7 separate regions of the Homo sapiens genome follow, and all the other regions are linked to region 1. The links are contacts of gene promoters, found by promoter capture Hi-C in human tissues and cell types (Jung and others, 2019). All regions are on one chromosome and are shown on one strand. The core of a region is centred on a gene start or on the middle of the fragment in contact, and the rest is flanking DNA. Distances in the headings are between cores, read along the strand shown.

The links. Contacts are between HindIII fragments. The study calls those that stand out against the background at their distance.
Region 2: a contact is called between the fragment with the promoter of LETM1 here and the fragment with the promoter of GAK in region 1, in 1 of the 25 tissues and cell types used here (dorsolateral prefrontal cortex).
Region 3: a contact is called between the fragment with the promoter of TMEM129 here and the fragment with the promoter of GAK in region 1, in 1 of the 25 tissues and cell types used here (spleen).
Region 4: a contact is called between a fragment that was not itself captured here and the fragment with the promoter of GAK in region 1, in 2 of the 25 tissues and cell types used here (dorsolateral prefrontal cortex and lymphoblastoid cells).
Region 5: a contact is called between a fragment that was not itself captured here and the fragment with the promoter of GAK in region 1, in 2 of the 25 tissues and cell types used here (dorsolateral prefrontal cortex and spleen).
Region 6: a fragment that was not itself captured here is called in contact with the fragment with the promoter of GAK in region 1 in 1 of the 25 tissues and cell types used here (lymphoblastoid cells).
Region 7: a contact is called between a fragment that was not itself captured here and the fragment with the promoter of GAK in region 1, in 1 of the 25 tissues and cell types used here (lymphoblastoid cells).

Annotation. Positions count from the first base shown.
Region 1 is chr4:930,581-933,806 of GRCh38, forward strand. It overlaps GAK (cyclin G associated kinase), which reads right to left and starts at 1,736. Exons shown (of 28, transcript NM_005255.4): 1 at 1,463-1,736. The coding sequence starts at 1,607. It overlaps TMEM175 (transmembrane protein 175), which reads left to right and starts at 1,880. Exons shown (of 11, transcript NM_032326.4): 1 at 1,880-1,960. RefSeq lists a silencer at 1,522-1,841 and an enhancer at 2,002-2,321. The HindIII fragment of the contact is 8,506 bases long and covers 1-3,226 here.
Region 2 is chr4:1,854,377-1,857,602 of GRCh38, forward strand. LETM1 (leucine zipper and EF-hand containing transmembrane protein 1) reads right to left here and starts at 1,780. Exons shown (of 14, transcript NM_012318.3): 1 at 1,493-1,780. The coding sequence starts at 1,574. RefSeq lists silencers at 246-422, 1,217-1,406, 1,417-1,976, 2,377-2,596 and enhancers at 988-1,489, 2,127-2,196, 2,866-3,226. The HindIII fragment of the contact is 14,961 bases long and covers 1-3,226 here.
Region 3 is chr4:1,719,735-1,722,960 of GRCh38, forward strand. TMEM129 (transmembrane protein 129, E3 ubiquitin ligase) reads right to left here and starts at 1,589. Exons shown (of 4, transcript NM_001127266.2): 1 at 899-1,589. The coding sequence starts at 1,103. It overlaps TACC3 (transforming acidic coiled-coil containing protein 3), which reads left to right and starts at 1,787. Exons shown (of 16, transcript NM_006342.3): 1 at 1,787-1,909. RefSeq lists enhancers at 440-539, 1,622-2,617 and silencers at 1,130-1,179, 1,190-1,999. The HindIII fragment of the contact is 14,879 bases long and covers 1-3,226 here.
Region 4 is chr4:158,766-161,991 of GRCh38, forward strand. ZNF718 (zinc finger protein 718) reads left to right here. Exons shown (of 4, transcript NM_001039127.6): 4 at 2,147-3,226. Among named protein-coding and RNA genes, the nearest start is that of ZNF718, 36 kb to the left of the region's middle. The HindIII fragment of the contact is 3,300 bases long and covers 75-3,226 here.
Region 5 is chr4:1,701,700-1,704,925 of GRCh38, forward strand. SLBP (stem-loop histone mRNA binding protein) reads right to left here. Exons shown (of 8, transcript NM_006527.4): 3 at 1,897-2,001. Among named protein-coding and RNA genes, the nearest start is that of SLBP, 9.0 kb to the right of the region's middle. The HindIII fragment of the contact is 4,119 bases long and covers 1-3,226 here.
Region 6 is chr4:235,923-239,148 of GRCh38, forward strand. It overlaps the pseudogene ZNF876P. Among named protein-coding and RNA genes, the nearest start is that of ZNF732, 68 kb to the right of the region's middle. The HindIII fragment of the contact is 5,262 bases long and covers 1-3,226 here.
Region 7 is chr4:339,540-342,765 of GRCh38, forward strand. The region is part of intron 1 of ZNF141 (zinc finger protein 141); the gene reads left to right. Among named protein-coding and RNA genes, the nearest start is that of ZNF141, 3.3 kb to the left of the region's middle. The HindIII fragment of the contact is 3,033 bases long and covers 188-3,220 here.

The sequences.
Region 1 (3,226 bases), core at 486-2,985:
TCTCCACCCCTTGAGCACAAGTCTGAAGTTCCAGAAAGCAAGTCCTGTCCACAATAAACTTCTTAAAGAATGAAGATAACCACCTAGTATTTTCAGAATAAATGATTTGATCTGAGAGAAATCTTCCAACTGATGTGAAAGAATATCACACTTCAGCCCCCACTTCTGAAAGAAGAGCTTAGACTTTCTGACCAAATCATACCCAAAATCTGTTTGGTTTTGACCACAATGGAGACAAAGTGTGTGATAATGCTACAGTCAAAATGTCTCCGCAGGCCTTTTGTGATAATCAGAATTCTGGGATAGTCTCCTGTCTGGTCACAGAGCAGGCACCTGGACAGGCTAACCCTCCAGCCCTGAGAGGTACCAGGGAGCTGGTGAGGGTGAGGGCTTTTGTGTCGCTTCACTCCCTCTCCCTGTGCCAATACAGCAGAATAGAGTTACGCTTCCGCACCCAAGTCAACTGTGTTTAGCCCATAAACTTCACAGCCAGTGAAATATGACACACCTCCAGGCACCACTGGACAAAAAATGTAAGGAAAATCCACAAGAGAGAATGGGACCCACTGGCACTGGTGATCGATTCCGTGTGAACGGAGAGGACATCCAGGGAGCTAGAAATAGCATGCAGAGACAAAACTGACTCAAGACTGACTCAAGAGGACTTAAGCCGAGTGACCTGTCCACTCTGCAAGTTCTATATAGGTCACAACCACTGGCTCTGCTTCCTGTACTACACACGGAATCACACGAGTAGATGTTCACCGGGAAGAGAAACACTGAGGTGTTGAAAGACGAAGGGGGATCACGAGACACAGCCCAGTCTACCCTCGGCCAACCCCCCCACCCCCCAGGCTACAACCGCAACTACCTGCAACACGTGTGCACCCACCAACTCTCAAGTTCCCTGGACTGTAGAAGAACCAGCCCTAACCTCCAAAGTCCAGTCCTGTCCCTGCCTGCTCAATAACCCCAGATGTCCGGCAAAAGGCCAAGGCTTAAACCCACCTCCTGCACCGCTCACCTCCTGACTCCAGCTGTCGGCCTTCTAGGCACCGTCCCTCAGTCTCCGCTGTGGGTCCCCACCCAAGCTCCCTGCCTGCCACCATCCCCCACCTCACCGTAACATCTTCCCCCACCCACCCTGAGGGGGTTCCCCAAGCCCCAGGCCTTGCTCCGACTTGACCCTACTCTTATGACAAGAAAGTACCCCGACCCGGTCCCAGCCTCGCCCTCCGCAATCACCGCCAGCAGGCACTCACCTACGCCCGCGCTATGACCTTCGCCTGGCCCTGACCCACGCCCTCGGCAGAGACCCTCCCCTGGCCGACCCTGACCCACGATCCCGCTGGGACCCTCCCCAGCCCTAACCCACGCCCTTCCACTCCGGGCTGACGCTGCCCCCAGCGTCCCGGAGACAACACTCCGCGGCCGCACCCGCGCTGCCGACCCGGGGCCTCACCTTCGGCCAGGACCCGCCGCACCCGCAGCCGCAGCTCGCCCAGTTCCACCGTCTGCCCCACGAAGTCACTCTGGTCGCGGCCGGAAGCACCGCCCAGGGAGCCTGGACCCGCCAAGAAGTCGAGCGCCGACTGCAGCAGCGACATGGCGGTGGCTGCGCCGCACCCCGCGGCAGCCGGAGTGGTCGGGCTCGGGCTCCCGCTCCCTCGCCGTCCGGGTCAGCTCAGCAACCGCCGGCCCGGAGGTGCACCATCTTCCGCCTCGACGCCGTGACGTAGGCGCCCGTGAGGACGCGTCGCGTCAGGCGGCGACCCGGCCTAGCCCCGTCCCCTCCGCCGCGGCCTCACTTCCTGGCTGCGCGCGCAGGCGCGGAGGTCTGACGGAGACAGCGCGTGCGCGGCGTCGCCGGGCTTGCGATGAACTTCCGGCTGTCAAGCTCCCGGCCGGGCTGACTCAAGCGGAGGCGCGCGGAACAGTCGCCGAGGCGATTCCCGCCCAGGTAGTTCAGCGCCCCAGTCCAGCTCCCGGTACCGTTCCCCACATGGTCTGTTTTGTGGGAGGCTCCTTCTCAGGTGTCTCCGGTTTAAGCGCTTCGCCATCCTCTGGGTGGAGTCAGCCTCCCGTTTGCTGTTAGCGCCGCGTTTGCGAATGGGTTCGCGAATTTTTCTCTCAGTTGGCTAAGGAGCAAGGAGTTAGCGTGCGTTAAGCTTTCAGTAAATACTTGGTTTTCGTCTCATGGAGGTCGGAGTTTCCTGTGACGCTTAGTGAGTAAGGTTGGCAGCCCCCTCCCAGCAGCCAGGCAGGCAGTTTGCAGGGGAAACGCTGCTGCATTGCTCTGTCTTCCGAGGAGAGGGCCAGGGTCTGGCCTGGGGCAGTGACCAGTAGTGGGAGCCGTGGGCTAGAAAAACCTTCGTCCTGGGCAACCACAACACTGCAGAGACTGCCCTGTGACCCTCAAGGTTCGTTCTCACCCTGACATTTTCCAAGGCAAAAGCAAATCCTCATGAACCACTTGGAAGGGTTCGTAATGCCCAACTATTTGGAGATGAAATGGTGACTTTCCTTATAGGATAATAAGGAAATGGCTCACAGACAATGCATTTTTAGTTTTTGGCCCACACAGTATTTGGGGGTTGGGAGTGGGTAGCAGGAGGTGAATTAGTTGCTATCATTTAAAGACTGATGCCAGGCGCGGTGGCTTACACCTGTAATCCCAGTGCTTTGGGAGGCCGAGGCAGGCGGATCACCTGAGGTCAGGAGTTCCAGACCAGCCTGGTCAACATGGTGAAACCCCGTCTCTACTAAAAATACAAAAATTAGCCGAGCGTGGTGGCGGGTGCCTGTAATCCCAGCTACTCGGGAGGCTGAGGCAGGAGAATCGCTTGAACCCGGGAGGCGGGCGCCACTGTACCCTAGCCTGAGACTCCGCCTCAAAAAATAAATAATAATAATAATAATAATTGAAAGGCCTAAATGTTAAAAACCTAGTTTTCCAGCTTCTGTGGAAAAATCAAACCTGTCAATATTGGACCCAAAATGATGTGTGTTACCAATTACCTAGAGTGGTCCCTTGAGGTAAGACACAGTCATTTGCCTGACCAGATGGGCTCATGTATGTTACCTGCCTGGTTCCTATAGTCATTTAAGGTTGCAACCCCTTCAACAGAGTTATTTGTTCTCCAACTCAAAAATGGATTCTAAAGCTCACATCAGCCTCTTAGCCGTCCCAGAAGCTAACATCTGTTATCTTTATCATTAAAAGATA
Region 2 (3,226 bases), core at 530-3,029, 920 kb after region 1:
GGCTGAGGCAGGAGAATCGCTTGAACCTGGAAGGCAGAGGTTGCAGTGAGCCGAGATCATGCCACTGCACTCCAGCCTGGATGACAGAGCGAGACTCCATTTCAAAAAAAAAAAAAAAAAATTACAAGAATTGGGGGCCGGGCGCGGTGGCTCACGCCTGTAATCCCAGCACTTTGGGAGGCCGAGGTGGGTGGATCACCTGAGGTCAGGAGTTCGAGACCCGCCTGGCCAAGACGGAGAAAACAGTCTCTACTAAAAATACAAAAATTAGCCAGTCGTGATGGCGGGTGCCTATAATTCCAGCAACTCGGCAGGCTGAGGTAAGAGAATCACTTGAACCCAGGAGGTGGAGGTTGCAGTGAGCCAAGATCACACCACTGCACTCTAGCCTGAGCAACAGATTGAGACTCTGTCTTTAAAAACAAACAAACAAACAAACAAAAAAAAACAAGAATTGGGAGGATACATTCAGGGCAACTTCAATCTATCTCTTTGGGGGTGGGGAACAGAGACAAGAATATTGAAGCTGGGTGCCTGGGCATGGTGGCTCCTGTAATCCCAGCACTTTGGGAGGCCAAAGCAGGAGGATCAGTTGAGCCTTGGAGTTCAAGACCAGGCTGGGCAACATACCAAGACCCTGTCTCTACAAAAAAACTACAAAAAAAAAAATTAGCTGGGTGTTGTGTGGCACAACTAACAACTTGGGAGGCTGAGGCAGAAGGATAGCTTGAGCCCAGGAGTTTGAGGTGCAGTGAGTATGATCGCACCACTGCACTAATTATTTTACTTGAGTCCCTCTTAGCAAGTTTTATGTTTATTCCAATTTTACAAATAAGGACATAGACTCAAATAAGTTGGTTAATTAGAGAGAGAGAGGAGGTGGGCACACCCTGGGACAGCATTCACTCCAGACAGCACCTGAGGCTAGGGGGGCTAAAGCCACGCACCCTGAGGACCCTCAGCGGCTCCGGAGTCCCCGTGTTCCCCGGGTGCCGGTCGCGGCCTAATCACACCACAGGGGTTTGTAGGTGCTGGCATCACCTCATCAGTGACGGACCAGGAAGGCTCCTGCAGCCCAGCAGGTCCTGCTCGCCGGTGTCTGCCCTGCCCACCCAGTCTCGTCTCCGGGACCCCAAACGTGACCAAAGGGCACGGCCGTCCTCGTGCGTGGACACGTTCCACCAAGCTTACTCGCGCAGGGCGCGCCAGGGCTGCCCAGCCCTTCAGAATTTTCCCACTGTCTCTGAGGCAGTGACCCGGGGGACCCGGCCGCCTAAGGTCACAACACACGGCAGAGGCCCAGCGGCTCCGCCCGGCGCTGGCGGCCCAGCCCGCGACGAGACCCGGGGCCCCACGGTCCCGCAGGGGCTCCGGAGGCCGGGACCACCGGGCTCCCCGCATCGCCGTGACAACCAGCCCGAACCCGCGGGTCGTCCGCGCTCCCGACCCACCAGCCGGGAGCCGGCCCCGCCCTGGGGTGCCCGCCGCTTACCCCGCGGGACGGTGTACCGAGGCGGCGGCGGGAGGCGGGCGGGCGCCCGGCCGCGGCAGCTCCTCAGTAAGATGGACGCCATGTGCTCGGGCGCGGCGGCCGCTCCGGCCTCCTGCGCTGCCTCCTTCTCCGCGGCGGCCGCGGCTCTTCGCCGTCCCGGCGGCGCTTCAGACCCGGCCCGCGCGGACGGCTGACAGAGGCGGCTGGCCTCGGACGGGAGGCGCTCTCCTCAAGGACCCGGCACCAGCGGCGGCCTTGTCCCGGCACAGACGTCCGGAGGCGCGGGGCGGGGCGGCCAGGCCGCGGCTCCCATTGGGCCCCTCAGCGCCCGCCGCTGGCCAGGTGAGGGGCGGACCGCGCCACCGCGGACTACCGGTTCCGGCGTGCACCGGGACGGCCTGCACGCTGGGGTGCGGACTACCGATCCCGGCGTGCACCGGAGCGGCGGACTACCCTGAGGCGCGGACTACCGGTCCCGGCGTGCACCGGGGCGGCTGGCTCCTGGGGCTCGCTGCATCCTGGTTCCCGTCGTACCGTGGACGCCGGGGCTCGCAGCGTGGCGGCCGCAGGAGCTGAGGGAGTCGGCCGCGCTTGCGCGGGGAGTGTCTTTTCGTCTCCGGGCGGCGGCAGCAGCGCGTGTGTCCGGAACTTTTCTGGGACTAAGTCCTGCACCCACGAGTAGAAAACGGCTCCTGGGAGCTTGGGGCTCCAAGGGCAAGTCAGGGGACGCTGGGGATGGAGGGGCGCCCTCGACGCCCTCGGCCGCGGTCCCTCGCCGGCCCCCCTGCTCTGTGGCTCTGCCCTCGGCGGTCTGCACTCTGGCGCGCGCAGCTCTGAGTGCCTCTTCCCTGCGTACCGGGCGGCGCTCCCCAGATACGGCGCTGCTCGGCGTCGGGAGTCCCCGTCACCACTGGGGGGACGGGAGCGCAGGGTCCCGCCCCGAAGGACAGGGCCATGCCGGCCCCTGGAGGCGAGGGCACTAGGCCGGGTGGCGGCGCAGCCAGCATAGCGGCCCCCCATCCCGGCACACCGCGTCCTCCCGTCTGAGCGGGAGGGGTAGATATGGGTCCTGCGTTGGCGCGGGGGGACCCCTCGTTTCGCTCTGGCCTAAGCAGCCCCTGGGGTCCCGCGCGCCGCAAGAGCGCCAGACTTCCTAACCTGGGCCATACCCTGTCCGCTCCACTTCCCAGTCCAAGAAGGAACAGCCGAAGCCCAGGACGCCAAGGACCTGGCTCGAAGTCTCCAGAATTCCCGCCAGAGCTGGGCTGGGCTCGCGGACCGCTCATGCGCCGTCTCCCAGGAGCCTCCCCCCAGCCCAGTTTAATAGCCGGCCCTGACCAGTCCAGGGGAGAGAGACCGTGCAGCCTCCCAGCAGACCGTGACCTCTGAGCTCCACCTTCCCCTTCCTTCCCTAAGATGAGGATCCCTGAGTTGGGGCAGAGAAAGCAGGCAGGGAGAAAAATGGGGACCTGCGGCGCTGGGGGCCCAGCTGGTGGAGATCTCCAGCTAGGAGATCCCCAGCACAGCACTTGCCCTGCCCTCTGTCTTGTTCAGGGATGTAACCTGCCTCCTCCTGCTTCTCCGCGGCACCTCAGGGCACCGCCTGGGGAGGGTCTTGTAGTGCACACTCAGCATCTCTGTTCCCTGGAGCGCATGGGGTGTGAAACGCCTGATGCCAGCCAGCTCCCCAGTCTTGAGAGGCTGGTTGAATGGCACATCTCCCTAGGAGGCTCC
Region 3 (3,226 bases), core at 339-2,838, 790 kb after region 1:
AAAGTGGCCTGGTCAGGGCCCCAGCCCCACTCAGCCCCATCCATCTCTCAAGTGGGCCCCCAGCCCACCCTCTCCATGAGGCAGGCCTGGGCGCCTCCACCCGACACCTGCCTCCAGTTCTTCTGGGCCCAGGCAGCTGCATCCTCAAACCAGGATGTGGAGGGTCACCCCTCTTGTATCCCCAGAGTGGCAAACCTGGCCAGCCACTGGCCATCTGTCCTCCCAGGGCTGCGTCTGCCCCCGTGTCCTCCAGAGGTACCCCCTTGAAATCCCCCTCCAGCCACTGCACACCCCACCTCCCACCTGTCCGTCATCCAATCAGCTGAGAGAGGGACCTTCCAGAGCCCCAGCTAGCACCTGGGGCCCAGCCCAGCACCCCCCTGGACAACTCTGAGCGTCCCACCTGCACTGCACAGAGGCCCTCCCCAGCCTCTGCCCCTGTGGCGCCCCCAAACTGGAACTGCCTCCAAATCCGCCTGTTCTCTCCACACCCACCTTCCAAGGCCTAGTGCAGTGCCACCCTCCACACAGCCCCTCCGACCCCTTCCGTTGGACTCAATCAACAGTTGCCTTCTCCTGGCCACTGCCCCCAACCACGACAAGCAAGGGCTGCTTGGCCTTGCAACCCCCAGGCACGTGACGGTTCAGGACTTGGTGGGCCGGAGCATCCCTTGCCCAAGGTTCTGAACTTGGGTTCCCGTCACCTGCAAGTCAGTGCCGGCGGCGCCCCTAAGCGCGCTCAGCCCACGCCGCGGTCCCTCTGGATGAGGACCGGCGCCTCTCCCCAGCTGCGCCCAGGCGCTTTCGGGGCCTCGGGGAGCTGGCGGAGGCCTCCTCCTGACCTCCCAGCAAGCCCTGCGCAGGAGAGGATGCGGCCGGCCGGCCCGAGCAGCCTCACCGAGCGGCAGCAGCGAGTGGCACAACAGCGTGGCGGCCGTGCGGCGCAAGTGGAAGGGCACGAAGGCGGCGTCCTCGCTGCCCAGCCAGCCCGACAGCAGGTTCTGCACCGTGAGCCCCGCCGCGTGGAACTCGTTGGGCGTGAACACGAAGCACACGGCGAACACCAGATAGGCGAGAGTGAAGGTCACCTCGGGGCTGTCCATCGCGCAGCCGCCGGGAAGCTGTCGAGCTAGGCCCCCGCCCCGGCGCGCGGACGAGGCCGCAGCGCCCAGTCCCGGACCTGTCGGTTGCGGCGGCCGCCGCCCGGCCGCCCGCGGGGCACTCTAGGACATGGAGTCCCGCCGCCCGGCCGCCCGCGGGGCACTCTAGGACATGGAGTCCCGCCGCCCGGCCGCCCGCGGGGCACTCTAGGACATGGAGTCCCGCCGCCCGGCCGCCCGCGGGGCACTCTAGGGCATGGAGTCCCGCCGCTCGGCCGCTCGCGGGGCGCTCTGGGAGATGCAGTCCCCGTGCGGGTGCGGCCTCTCTTCTCGGCCGGCCCTGGAGGCGGCACCGCACCTGTGCATTGAGCACAGGTGGGGAAACTTAGGCCTGAGCGAGGCCCTGGCCATGAAGCCCCGCCCAGTAGCGTCAGTTGCGGAACTCGAAATTCATGGGGCGACTGCGAGCCCGGGGTCTCAGCTTCAGACACCCTGGCGTGCCCTCCACTCCGGAAACGGAACCGTCGGCGCCCGAGCGGGGGGTGGGGGGGGAGGGAGGGCGGAGCCGGCGAGGCACAGCTTCCCATTGGACGCCCGCCCTCCTGCGGTCCTGCCCCCGGCCGCGCGCTGATTGGCCGCGCGAAGGCAACCGTCGGCGTTTGAAACTCCGGCGCGCCGGCGGCCATCAAGGGCTAGAAGCGCGACGGCGGTAGCAGCTAGGCTTGGCCCCCGGCGTGGAGCAGACGCGGACCCCTCCTTCCTGGCGGCGGCGGCGCGGGCTCAGAGCCCGGCAACGGGCGGGCGGGCAGGTAGGAGAGCGGCTACACGGCGCGGGGAGGCTGGGGTCCTGGGGGCGCGAGGCCGTCCCGCCCCGCCCCGCCCTCGGCCCTCGCCCTCCCGCCCCGGCCGCCGCTTTCCCCGGGAAGCGTCCCCCACGGCTCCTCCTGGGGCCGCCGCCAGAACCTGTACCGCGCCCTGTCATGGGACCCGGCCCTAGACCGACCGCCGGGCTGGGCCCCCTGGATGGTGGCCAGGGGCGGCTAGAGCTGGGCCAAGACCGACGGCGGAGCGGGCGCCCCGAGGTGCTTTGCTCTCCTCGACCCTCTCCTGTCTCTCGGTCGCCCACCTTGGCTCTTTGTTGGCTCCCAGCACGCGGACCCTCCTGTTGTTCTTTGGTCCCTTCCGGCCTCCGTCCTGGGGCCAACTCCATCTAGGCCGCCTGCGGCGGACACCTGGGCCCCTACCGCTTCCCCGCACCTGCTGCGCCGCTCCACCTTCCCCCCGCACCGCATCCCTCTTGTGCACCAGAGTAGCACCAAAGCACCAGCCTGGGGCCGGTCCCTTCTCTGCCCAGAGCCCCTCCCGGGCCTCCATAGTCAGTAAAGGCCCCTCCTGACTAAGGCTGGGTCTGCTGCTCTCCCGAGCTCCTCCAGGCCGCCAGAAGGCTTCCTCCGAGTCACTTTCTCCCTGAGTTCGAGGCTTGCGGGTCCCCCAGCGATCCAGCACCCCTTCCCCTGCCCTGTACCCAGTTATTCAGGGCGAAAACCTAAGCGTCGTCCGTAAGTCCCATATGTGCCAGTGGCCAGGCCCGGGTCTGGTCTGGCATCTACTCCTTGGGCTCCAGAAGCCTGTGGTTTCCCTGCTTCCCTTCTGCTCTTAACCTCCCCACCCACACACAGCACCACAGTGGGCTTCTCAAGCTGCAGCACCGACCTGCCGGGGCTGCCCCCTCTCTCTTCTCCAGGACCCTCCCCAACTTTGCTCTTCTTCAAATCAAAGCCTCCCCAGGTCCCCCTCCACCACCAGGTGCCTGTGGGGTTCCTGCCCTGGTCGACACTCGGTTCTCTCTGGCAGCCTTTTTCCCTACGTCATTCCCTAGACTGGGAACGCTGTAGACAGAAAGGGTGGCAAGTGTGTGGGTGACCGGCGTGAGGACCTGGGCAGCCCTGGAACCTGGGACTGACTGGAGGCTCTGATGTGGAAGTTCCTTGGCACCTGTTGCTCAGCTCTGGGCTTCCCTTGTTTGCGCATCGTCTCCCAGCTCCTCCTCTGGGCCTTCACCCTCTCAGCCTGGTCTTGTCCCGCTGCCTAGCCCGGTGGGAGAGAGCAGACCAGAGCCGCTGTCC
Region 4 (3,226 bases), core at 475-2,974, 770 kb before region 1:
CATGATAATGATATAGAACTTTATATTTTTGTATGTGCATATCTTTCCTAGAAAATTATGTTTTCATATGATTATGTTTTGTTTTCTTGCATTATGTTATTTTCAGTGAAAGATACTTTCTTTAGCCTTTTTTTTTTTTTGCAAGGCAGATGTAGTGCTAATATACTTTTTCAGCATTTGGTTATCTTGCAAGGTCTTTACTTTTTCTTCATTTTTAGGACAGTTTTGCTGGTTATATTAGTCCCACTTAGGAGCTATTCTTTTTTTCTTTTTTCTTTTTTTTTTTTTTGAGATGGAGTCTTGTTTTGTCGCCCAGGCTAGAGTGCAGTGGCGCGATCTTGGCTCACTGCAACCTCTGCCTCCTGGGTTCAAGCAATTCTTTTGCCTCAGCCTCCCGAGTAGCTGGGACTACAGGCATGTGCACCACACCTGGCTAATTTTTTTGTATTTTTAGTAGAGACAGGGTTTCACCATGTTGGCAAGGATGGTCTCGAACTCCTGACCTTGTGATCTGCCCACCTTGGCCTCCCAAAGTGTTGGGATTACAGGTCTGAGCCACTGTGCCTGGCCGAAGCTATTTTTCTTTCACCACTTTATATTACAATTCCATGACATCTGGAATTTTTTTTTTTTGACAGATTCACTGGTTATCTTATAAGACCACACTTATTTATAAATGACACATCACTTTTACCTTGTAACTCCTAAGATTCTCTTCTTGTCTTTGACTTTTGAAACTTTGCTTGTATGTGTCTTGTTATAAATCTCTATGTGTGTATCCTAGTTGAAGCTTGTGGAGCATCTTCAGTTTTTACATCCTTTTTTTACTTTTGAAAATGTCTCAGTCATTATTGTTGTATTTTTCACCTTCATGACTTGTTTTTTATATTTTTAATGTTTTCATTGATATTCTTATTTTTCTGATTTTATAAATTGTATATGTTTCTATTTCACTCATTGAGCATTATTCAGGTTAAACTTTTAAATTTTGAATATCTTCATTATTTATAGTTGTTTTCTGAAAATTTTCAAATTTTTTAATTGGGCCATGTTGCCCTAGTATTTTGCCTACATTGTAATATTGTTATTTGAACATGAACTAAAAGCTATTTGTCACAATCTTTACAATGTTGCCTTGTCCTCACATAGTCTGAAACCAGTTGTCTTTGATAGAGATTATGGGAGCCTCTCATACATGTTGTAAGGGTGTGTCTTGTCTAGAATTTTGTGTTTATTCTTCAGTTAAAAGAGTTTGTTCATGTTTCTTCTTATGGTTTCTAATCACTTGCTCTACCTGTTCCCTGTTTTTAGCACTGCTGTCTGCTCATGAAACATTTACCTTTGGTCTCAGCAGACTCACCACCATTTCTTTCAGCACCCTGTATTATTGGAGACAGAAACCAGCTTTTGTAATAATTTCCAAAAACCAGAAGTAGGAATGCGTGTGTCACTATTTTTCCTCTAAGAAGCCAGGTGTTGGCAGTTTACTCCTAAAGCACAATGCTATATTTGTGGGAAGGAAGAGCTGCAGTGGGTAAATGTAACATACTTTACTTCGTGTTTTATGTGGCTCTTGGAATTGTGCTTACCTGAGGCATTGCACATAATTAACTCATTTATAGATTTCACACAAAGGCATTTTGGTCAGTATATTTTTGTTATATATGTCTGTAAAGAAATTATGGCCTGTGGTATTTACTGAGCATCTTACTGATATACTTTGTATAATTTTATATATTAGATTTGTAATTGTATTAGATTTGTAAAGTATATTTATTTACTTATTTGTTTATTTATTTATTGAGATGGGGTCTCACACTGTCACCTTTTCTGGAGTGCAGTGGTGTGATCTTGGCTGATGGAAGCCTCTACCTCCCGGGTTCAAGGGATTCTCCTGCCTCAGCCTCCCAAGTAGCTGGGATTATAGGCATGCACCATCATTCCCAGCACATTTTTTTTGTATTTTTAGTACAGACAGTGTTTCACCATGTTGGCCAGGCTGGTCTCGAACTCCTTACCTCATTATTTGCCCACCTTGGCCTCGGAAACTGCTGGAATTACTGGCTTGAGCTATAGTGCCTGGCCTGTAAAGTATATTTATATGAATCTAGTAAGTGGGATAATTTGTTATTTTTATTTCTTTCAGCTGTGTGTTCTCATTTCACCCAAAACCTTTGGACAGTGCAGGGCATAGAAGATTCATTCCACAAACTTATACCAAAAGGACATGAGAAACGTGGACATGAGAATTTAAGAAAAACTTGTAAAAGTATAAATGAGTGTAAGGTGCAGAAAGGTGGTTATAATAGAATTAACCAATGCTTATTAACTACCCAGAAAAAAACAATTCAATCTAATATATGTGTCAAAGTTTTTCATAAATTTTCAAATTCAAACAAAGATAAGATAAGATATACTGGAGATAAAACCTTTAAATGTAAAGAATGTGGCAAATCATTTCACGTGCTCTCACGCCTAACTCAACACAAAAGAATTCATACTGGAGAGAACCCCTACACATGTGAAGAATGTGGCAAAGCCTTTAATTGGTCCTCAATTCTTACTAAACATAAGAGAATTCATGCCAGAGAGAAATTCTACAAGTGTGAAGAATGTGGTAAAGGCTTTACTCGGTCCTCACACCTTACTAAACATAAGAGAATTCATACTGGAGAGAAACCCTACATATGTGAAAAATGTGGTAAAGCTTTTAACCAATCCTCAACCCTTAATTTACATAAGAGAATTCATTCTGCACAAAAATACTACAAATGTGAAGAATGTGGTAAAGCCTTTAAGTGGTCCTCATCCCTTAATGAACATAAGAGAATTCATGCTGGAGAGAAACCCTTCTCATGCGAAGAATGTGGCAATGTCTTTACCACATCCTCAGACTTTGCTAAACATAAGAGAATTCATACAGGAGAGAAACCCTACAAATGTGAAGAATGTGGAAAATCCTTTAATAGGTCCACAACTCTTACGACACATAAGAGAATCCATACTGGAGAGAAACCCTACACATGTGAAGAATGTGGAAAAGCCTTTAATTGGTCCTCAACCCTTAATGTACACAAGAGAATTCACTCTGGAAAAAATCCCTACAAATGTGAAGATTGTGGCAAAGCCTTTAAAGTGTTTGCAAACCTGCATAATCATAAGAAAATTCATACTGGAGAGAAACCCTACATATGTAAACAATGTGGCAAAGCCTTTAAACAGTCCT
Region 5 (3,226 bases), core at 437-2,936, 770 kb after region 1:
AGTTCAAGACCAGCCTGGCCAATATGGTGAAACCTAGCCTCTACTAAAAATACAAAAATTAGCCGGACGTGGTGGCACACAGCTATAATCCCAGCTACTCGAGAGGCTGAGGCAGGAGAATCGCTTGAACCTAGGAAGCGGAAGTTGCAGTGAGCTGAGATTGCATCATTACACTCCAGCCTGGGAAACAGAGCAAGACTCCATCTCAAAAAAATAAGTAAGTAAATAAAAGCCGTAGCTTTCCATCACAAAGGGTATAATCAACAGAGCAGCCCAAACAGTGCTGTTTTCCAAAACAGGACAATTTTCAGGCACAGACCCATGAGATATCTGAAGAACAAATAGGGTCCACTCACAGGACAATCTGGACAGGTGGAATACGCATGAATAAGAGCTGCAGATAACCCCTGGCAAGGGGTGACTTGAGGGAGCAACTAGGCTATCGGTATGCAAGAACTGTTCTAAGACTTGTGCATGCAACACAAACTATACAAGTCAAGTCAAACATTCTAATTTTATAATTGAGGAAGTCAAGACCTATATAAATGCAATAATTCACTAAAAACACTGGTACTCTCATCTGTGAACTCCTAGTTCATTTCTTCTACCAAGGCATACATCCACCCACACATTTTGATACCAGAAGAAATGACAAATAACTCCCCCAAATGTTCAATAACCAATTCCCACATATTCCCGTCCCTTTTCAAAGGAGGCTGATATAAATACCATCACTGGCTGCCAAAATGAAAACAGGTAGTCTAGGTATCGTTCCGCGGCTGACACGCAAGACACATTTTTCTTGAGACCCTGTTTATCAGCCACTTGTTGGCTAAAATTATCTTGTAAAATACTTCAACCAATTATGAGCCACATTTTAACTGGGTTTGAATAAACCCAGTCCTTGCAACTGGGTTTGAGTTAGACAACTCATCAAAAGAGAAAGGATCAACACACTGATAATCAAGGGAGATTAAACATGGTTAAGGATGCATTAGGTAATGAGTCAACGAAGACGAAGTAGCTTAGTTTGCAAGAACTTGGATACACACAACAATCTTGTGTGCAACTGCAAGAGGTTCACAGAATCCAAGTTTGAGACCTTTCCTTGTATGTTGGCATTTCTGAGCTGTTTGTTGCCTAAGCCAAGTGTCAATGTATTCCTTCATCTGGAGAGAGCACTCCATCTACTGTGCTGGGTTGTGTGAGCACCGCACACAGAAGGTCGGTGGTAACAAATGACTATAGTAAGTTCCTGATAGTTAGGCCGGGCACAGTGACTCATGCCTGTAATCCCAGCACTTTGGGAGGCCGAGGTGGGCGGATCAGGAGTTCAAGACCAGCCTGACAAACATAGTGAAACCCCATCTCTACAAAAAATACAAAAATTAGCCAGGCGTGGTGGCCTGTGCCTGTAATCTCAGCTACTCAGGAGGCTGAGGCAAGAGAATCGCTTGAACCCGGGAGGCAGAGGTTGCAGTGAGCCGAGATCTTGTCACTGTACTCCAGCCCGGGCAACAGAGCGAGACTGTCTCAAAAAAAAAAAAAAAAAAAGAAAGTTAGTTCTGATAGTCCTCCAGCCTGCAATCCAGCAGTAACACCATTGTGCACCTACTTCCACTCTTGGAAGGATTACCACCAAGAGGACAGTGGTCTTCAAGCTTGAAAGAGTGGACCCGCCTGGAGGGCTTTTCACAGGATGGCCAGGCCCCACCCCATTCGCAGGCCCAGGGAAGGGTCTGAGAATCTGTATTTCTAACAAGTTCCCAGGAAATGTTGATGCCTTTGGTCTGGAGCCCAGACCTTTGAAAACCACTGTTCTAAGACAAATATCAAATTTAATGTGTTACTGAAAACGCCACAGATTAACACTTCAAGGTGGTCCAAAATGTGTACCTTGCCATTTCTTTGTTAACTCTGGTCCTCATTTCATCTTCTTCAACTGCACTTGCCCAGTCAGAGCATCTGGAACGGGGTTTAGGGCCTTCAGGAGTGGTAAAGCTGCAATAAAAGGAAAATGCTACTGAACCATGACACATACTTTGTTTTCTTTCAAACTGTATGTCAAGAAATATTCAAAGGCTGGTGGGACACAGTGGCTTGTGCCTGTAATACCAGCACTTTGGAAACTGAGGTAGGAGGATCACTTGAACCCAGGAGTTCAAGACCAGCATGGGCAAGATAGTGAGACCTCATCTCTGTCCCCCACCCAAAAAAATAAAAGCATTATATCAGTGAACTATGTGTATCAAACCATACTAAACTGGAGTTTAGCAGGACAAAAGCAAACTAGATGTAGAACATAACCTATCAGCTGCATCTGTCTATCCAGGGCTGTCTTACTAGAGCAGAAGTCATGGAGCTCCTTGGCAGTGTGCCCACTGTGTTTGGGGGTCTAATAAAACCAACTAGATTTTAGACTTCAAACTAAATTATGATTCCTTTTGGGTGTCCACACTTCAGTAGTCCAGGGCTATCATATGGCTGAAATCAACTTATTTCGTTCATCTCTGGTATGTGTTTATAAAGTCATTAAGATGGGAGATTTGCTTCAAATTTTTGCAGTGTGTGTGGCAGTCAGAAAAACCCATATCTAGTTTTCAGCTTCAGTTCTGGCATTTCTATGGGTTAACCTTATCTCATTGATCCAACATCCGGCCTGATGCTGGAGCTTATGAAGTTGACTCTAAGAAGTTCAGAGAGTGTAGAGTTTCCCATCTTGTATTTAATTTGTCTCTATGCCATTAGTCCCAGCTTGAAGTCATTACCAATGTCAATGTTGACAGGATTGTGACAATATTGCCTTTCATAAAACCGACCACCAAAGAATTCCATTATTCTAACAAAGCCCGAGTTTCACAGATCGCGGGCACATCTAGACAGATGTGTGCATGCTTGACGGTGCAGAGCAACTACTCACTTCCAGCAACCTCGTGCTTCCCCTGGCTGGCCATACAGAGGGATTCGCTGTCATACTGAGAAGGCTCTGCAAGGTAAGTCTCTAATTGAGGCTATCTCAGGTGGGTGTTTCCGCTGTGTAGTCCCAAGCCTGTATCCATATAATAAAAGTGCAGGTCTGGCATTCCTCCAGGTTATCTGGCCAGTGTAGACTCCTCCATCTGAATATGAACCTCCAGGGTAAGAATTTTCCAGACATGTCTATACTAAACAGTATGATCCTGTACTTGCCAAATGTCTGCCTCCTCCTGTTCTGCACTGACCCATT
Region 6 (3,226 bases), core at 501-3,000, 690 kb before region 1:
AACCTATGTACGTCCTTAAACCTAAAATAAGTCTCTTGTGCACAGCATATTGTTGACTTTTTAAATCTATTCAGACATTTTGTGAATGTTTCCTTTTTTTTTTTTTTTTTTTTGCTTCAATAACAGAATATCCCAGAGTTCGTAATTCATAAAGAATAGAATTTACTTAGCTCAGACTCCTGGATGCCAAGAAGTCCAAGAGCATGTCATTCCCATCTGATGAGAATCACATTTCCACATCACAACATGACCAAAGGGTTGAGGATGACAGAAGGTGTACACCAGTGCTCACTTTTATAATAGACCCACTCTCATGATGACTAATACACTGTGGTAATACTGATACTAATCCTTTCATGACAGTAGAGTGCTCATGACCTAATAACTCTTAAGGGCCTCATTTCTTAATTTTCTCACAATGTCAGTTAAATTTTAACATGAATTTTGGAGGGGACGCTCAAACTATAGCAATGTGTTTTTATTGGATAACTAAATCTTTATATATTTAAATGAATTACTGATTGATAAGAACTTACTGCCATTTTCTTACTGTTTTCTGACCATTTAGTAGTTTGTTTTTTCATTGTTTCATGCTGTCTTCCCCTGTATTTTCTTGAATTTTTGTTGTTTTTGTTGTTATATGCATTCTTTTTCTTTTGTGTGTAACCACTACAGTTTTTTTTGTAATTTCCAGGAAGCTTATGTAAAACATCTCATAGTTATAAAATCTAATTTCAGATAAGAATTTAGCTTTTGGTTTGTATAGATAGGGTCTTGCTTTGTTACCCAGTGTAGTGCAGTGGTACATTCATAGCTCAGTGCAGACTTGACCTCCCCAGGCTCAAGCAATCCTCAGCCTCCCAAGTAGCTGGGACTACAAGCACATGCCACCATGTCTGGCTAATTTTTTTAGTATTTTTTGTAGAGACAGGGTTTTGCCAAGTTGCTCAGGCTGGTGTTGAACTCCCGGGCTCAAGCAGTCCACCTGCCTTGGACTCCCAAAGTGCTAGTATTACAGGCATGAGCCATCAGGCCCAGCTGCTTCTTTTTTTAAAAGACTAAATAGCTTTCTGAGATCTTTATTTAATTTTATTTATGTACTTATTTAAGAGACAGGGTCCTGCTATATTGACCAGACTAGTTTTGAACTCCTGGCCTCAAGCAAAAGTTAGCTTCTATGTATAGAAAAATTAAACAATTTTACTCCCTTCAACATAGTATTTATGTCACACTCTACATCTTTTTATATCGTATACCCTTTAACAAATTATTGAAGCTATATGTAGTCTTAATAATTTTTTCTTGTAGCTTTTATACCAGAGTTAAATGTGATTAATTCATTCACCATAATTAGTTTTATAGCCTTCTAAATTCGACTATGTATATATGATTTTCAGTAAGATTTATAATTTTGTTGTAAGTTTGGATTCCATTACAACTTAAATTCTCATTAGCATTTGTTGTAAGTCAGGTCTAGTGATTAAAACTTTCAACTTTTTTTTAATCTGAGAAGATTTTGATACTTCATTTCTAAAGAACAGCTCTGTCAGGTATCGTCTTCTTAGTTGTCAAGGTTTTTTCTTTTTCTTCCTTCATTTGCATTTTAAATATATGGTTTCACTCCTGTGTGGCTTGCATGGTTTTTGCTGGGCAATCTGCTGATAACCTTATAGGAGTTCCCTTGAATGTGAAGAATCTCTTTTCTCTTGCTTTTTTTTTTTTTTTTTTACTTTTTACTCTTTATTTTAGGTTTTGCAGGCAAACCCCAGGTAAAGGGTTTTCTTTTTTTAATTTTAATTTTTGTGAGTATGTAGGACATGTATATATTTGTGTGGCACATGAGATGTCTTGATCCAGGCATGTAATGTGTAACAATCACATAATCAAAAATGGGGTATATCCATCCCCTCAAGCATTTATAATTTGGGTTATAAACAATCCAATTATGCTCTTTTAGTTATTTTAAAATGTGCAACTAAATTATTATACTCATACTGGGTATTACTCATTCTTTCTTTTTTTTTTCTTTTTTGTTTGTCTTTGAATTTTGGCAGTTTAATTATAATGTGTTCTGGACAATTTCTGTTAGATTCTTCTTGCTATAGACATTTTGAGCTTTTAAATTTAATATCTATATTCCTTCCAAGATTGGGAAGAATTTAAGACATTATATCTTTAAACAATTTAAAAATTTTTTTCTTTCTCATGAACCTCCTAAAATTGTACATCCTTACCATTGATTATGAAATATGGGGGACAAATGCTTTATTCACTCGCATTCTTTTTTTAAATTCTAACTAGGAACTTTCAAATAACTTTTACATTTGCTGATTTTTTTTTTCCTGTATAACGGAGTCTCCTGTTAAAGCTTTCTCTTAAATATTTTAGATCTCCTATTGTGTACTTCAGCTCCAGCATATCTAACTGGTTCTGTTTTAATGGTTTCTCTTTATTATAATTGTGATTCTGTTCATACGTTGTTGCAAAAAAAATTTAGTAATGTGTGGTTTTTTTGCATCTCATTGAGATTCTTTAAGATAATTATTTTGAATTCTTAGCCATTTTTTAGATCTGTGTTTTACTGTAAGTGGTTACTAGAGAATTTTTAGTTTCTTTTGGTGGTGTTACATTTGCCTGATCTTTCATGGTCTGTGATGCCTTGTTTTTATGTCCTTGCATCTGAAGGAGTAAATATCTCTTGCAGTCATTATAGATTAGTTTGGGGTGGTAAATATTTTCTCCTATTGGATCTCTGTGCTGATGAGATTTCCAGTGAGTTTGCAGTAAGGTGCATTGGATCTGGATCACAGTGAAGTTCATGCTTGGCAGACCTGTTATTAGGGCATCAGACTGTTGTGGATTCTGTCTATTTTCTAGGAAGACTGAACTTTCTTCAGGATCTTGATCAGTAAGACTGGTGCTGAGAAAAAAAAGTCTCCAGTTGTATATGCAGATGACAGAGCTGATATAATCCATGTGAGCAGGTATGGCTTCTGCTGTGTGGCTCTTGCTGGGTTTTTAGAAATCTTCTAACCCAGTCATTGGACAGATTCCTAGATGAGAAGTACTGACCCTTGGTCACAGCTGAGAGGGTGTGGAACTGATTCATAGGGCTGCTTCAGGATACACAGCTGAGACCAAAGTCTTCAGGTTTGTTTCTGGGTTCACGGCATTTCTCCCTCCAGATTCCTGGGTGGGCAGGACTGCTCCCAGACTTTAGTTGACA
Region 7 (3,226 bases), core at 454-2,953, 590 kb before region 1:
TTGTAGGACCAAATACAAATCAGAAGAGGCTTAATGCTTTCTCTTTAGAATGAGGAAAGAATTTTTACTCTTCTCCCTTAAAGCATTTAGTTTGAAAACTTTTATATTTAAATATTTTCTCTGCTTCTTTGAAATATATATAACTCATTTTAATCTGTTAACTAGGTGATTTGTCTTTTTTGACTCAAAATTGTCTTTAGGACATGGAAACTATTGCTTTGAAATGTGCATAGCAAGAATATATAACCTATTCCGCAATTTCTGTAGCAGAGTAGGAGGCTGCCTTCAGCAGGTACCTGCCTTCACATATCAAATCTACCTCCTGTCCTGAAGCTGTGGGAAGTTTATTTTCCCTTTGAATATTACCAATTAGGAAACCCGGATGACCTCCCAAATTACTAGGTGAAAGTGTAATAAACTATGTATGATACATGGTACTGTCAAGTCTTCTACTTGAGAGCTAATTATGGTGACTTTCTTTGTTTTGGCAGTCTCTTAGTAGACTGCCTGTAATGCACACCACATTTTGTTTAATTCTCTAACAACACATTTTCTTGCTGTTCTATTATTTTGGACAGTATTTTAGGATTGTAGATGATTTTGCTGTTATATTTTCCACACGCTGTCAAGAATTACTAGATGTTATACACAAAGTGCCCACCAGGCTTCGTTTTAGAGAAGAACCTTCTTTCTCAGGATTCCAGTCACAACCCACAGTTGTGCAGCAAAGTGCACGAAGTGCAGCAAAGTGCTCCCCAAAGCTGCAAACAAAATGATCTCTCTATTTGGGATCTACAATCCCTTCTATAGCAGTTTGACTAGATTTCTACAAAAATGACTTTTTAGGATAGCGATCAGTTTTTCCACCTCTTTCAGTGTGCCAATGATCTTCAGATCTGACACTGATTCAGAAATCATGGGGCCCATAAATCCAGCGAGGTTCACACATGTGCATTGATTAAACCTGAGAACTTCCATTCTCTCCCTTCTCCCCTTGCCCAAATGCCCACAAATGTGCTTACCAGCCCTCCAAGTCTTAAATGTGCAGTTCCAAATTCTGAGTTTATGTCCTGGGATTTGAGAGAAGAACAGAACTTTTGTTTGAGAAATACAAGTTCTTTTAATTACGAGACCAAGTGATGTGTTAAAATGAGACCACAGTCCTACCGTTCCCCTCTTTGAACTGTTTGTCTTTTGAAGTTGTTTGCTATTGCCACAAGTGGATATAAATTAACCTAATAATGCCATACTGGACACTATAACCCACACCTTATAGCTTAACAACGTACATAGCCAATCACTAACCAATGTTACTTCTATAAACCAATAAGAATTTCTGACAGCTTTCTATCAGTTCCGTCTGCCTTTCTTTTTGCCTTTAAAAATATACTTGTAACTGCTTCTAATTGGAGTGTATATTCAGGGCAGCTTTATAGTCCAGGGTTGCAATCTTCAAGCTTTGGCCCAAATAAACTCTCTTCTTATATTATGTTTACCCCACCTTTTTCCTTTTAGGTCAAAAAAACATTTTTCTTTTTTTTTTTTTTGAGACAGAATCTCGCTCTGTCGCCAGGCTGGGGTGCAGTGGTGCGATCTCGGCTCACTGCAACCTCCGCCTCCCAGGTTCAAGCAATTCTCCTGCCTCCGAGTAGCTGGGATTACAGGCGCACGCCACCATGCCCGGCGGATTTTTTATATTTTGTAGTAGAGATGGGGTTTCACCATATTGGCCAGGCTGGTCTTGAACTCCTGACCTTGTGATCCACCCGCCTCAGCCTCCCAAAGTGCTGAGATTACAGGCGTGAGCCACCGTGCCCAGCCTGTTTTGTGAGTTTTGATGCCATTATGTGAATGGCTATTCATTGACAGAAGAGAAGTTGTTATTATTTGTATTGTGTTTACCTTGCTAAGAATAAATATTTAGCTTCTAATATAATTGTTCTAGAGAAACATAAGGGTTTTGGTTAAATTCCTTGTTACTGTATGTTATACAAAAGACAGAGAAGTGGCTAAAATAGATTAAAATTTCACAAATTCTGGGAATCAAATTTCTCTTGGGCAGGCTTAGAAAAGACAAAACCGAAAGTACTTAGTGACATAGAGAGCAGAAGCCTAGGGCCCACTTTCTGTCCCATCCCTGCCCAGATCTACCCTCTTCTGATCCTTGTCCAGGTCTGAGCCAACACTGAAATCTCTCACAGAACTGATTAATAGAGGAGATCAGAGTTTAGGGTGGCTACTCCAGTCTCCTCTCCAGAGCTGGTGCCCACAATTTTCTGAAACCCAAAAGCCAATAAATAGGGAAAAGCTATATACTTTGGGGCCTTAAATCTTTTCTATAAAATTAAAACTAATGTTTCTAGAGACATCCCACCCAGCAACCTGTTCTCTATCCCTGCAGTTTCAGTGGCTTTTTCTTACAAGTCTCAAAGTAAATACAAACACAAAAATAAAAAAATTCCTCTGAATTGTACTTAACACTTTCTTTGGCTCTCTCCCATCTATTTATATTTAGCTATTATTCTATACATTTTTTTAAAAAGTCAGGGGAAACAGAAAGGAAATGGAAATTCTGGGCCCTGCCTTTAAATCTGGGAAGTATGGGACACCTAGTGTCTACCTCCCAGGATGTTATGAGAATTAACACACATAATATGAGCTTCCCATCACAGTGCTCTGTGACATACATCTGAGCACATATTACATGCCCCATAAAGATGGCATTAATGCAGATGCACATGTTGTTTTTCAGATACAGACTTACTCAGACATTGCCACCGTCTCCAACTTCTGTAACCTTATAGGGTCTGCAGAGAATGCCATGTTTGAAGATGATGATTGGTGGTCTTGGGATGAAAAGTATTTGTGTTGTGATAACGGTGTTGGGGTAAGGGACTCTGTGTGCTGTGTCTGCTTTCTCTAACTGAGTGGTACTATAATGGGTCTAGAGGGAGGAGCGTCAGCATTAACAGGAGACTTGCTGTAAAAAGCTAATTCATGGACCCTTTTCAAACCTGCAGAATTTTGTTACTTACAGTGAGGCCTACAATATCAAATAATGTATATGTACAATGAAGCTTGAGAGGCAGTGCTTAGCTAAGTGACTCTCAGCCCAGTCTTCCAGTAGGATCACATGGACAGTTTGAAGAGAAACCATCAGCTGTGTTCTGCCCACAGATCCTGTCCATTGTTCTGGGTGAAAAGTCCTTATTTATTTTATTTTTGA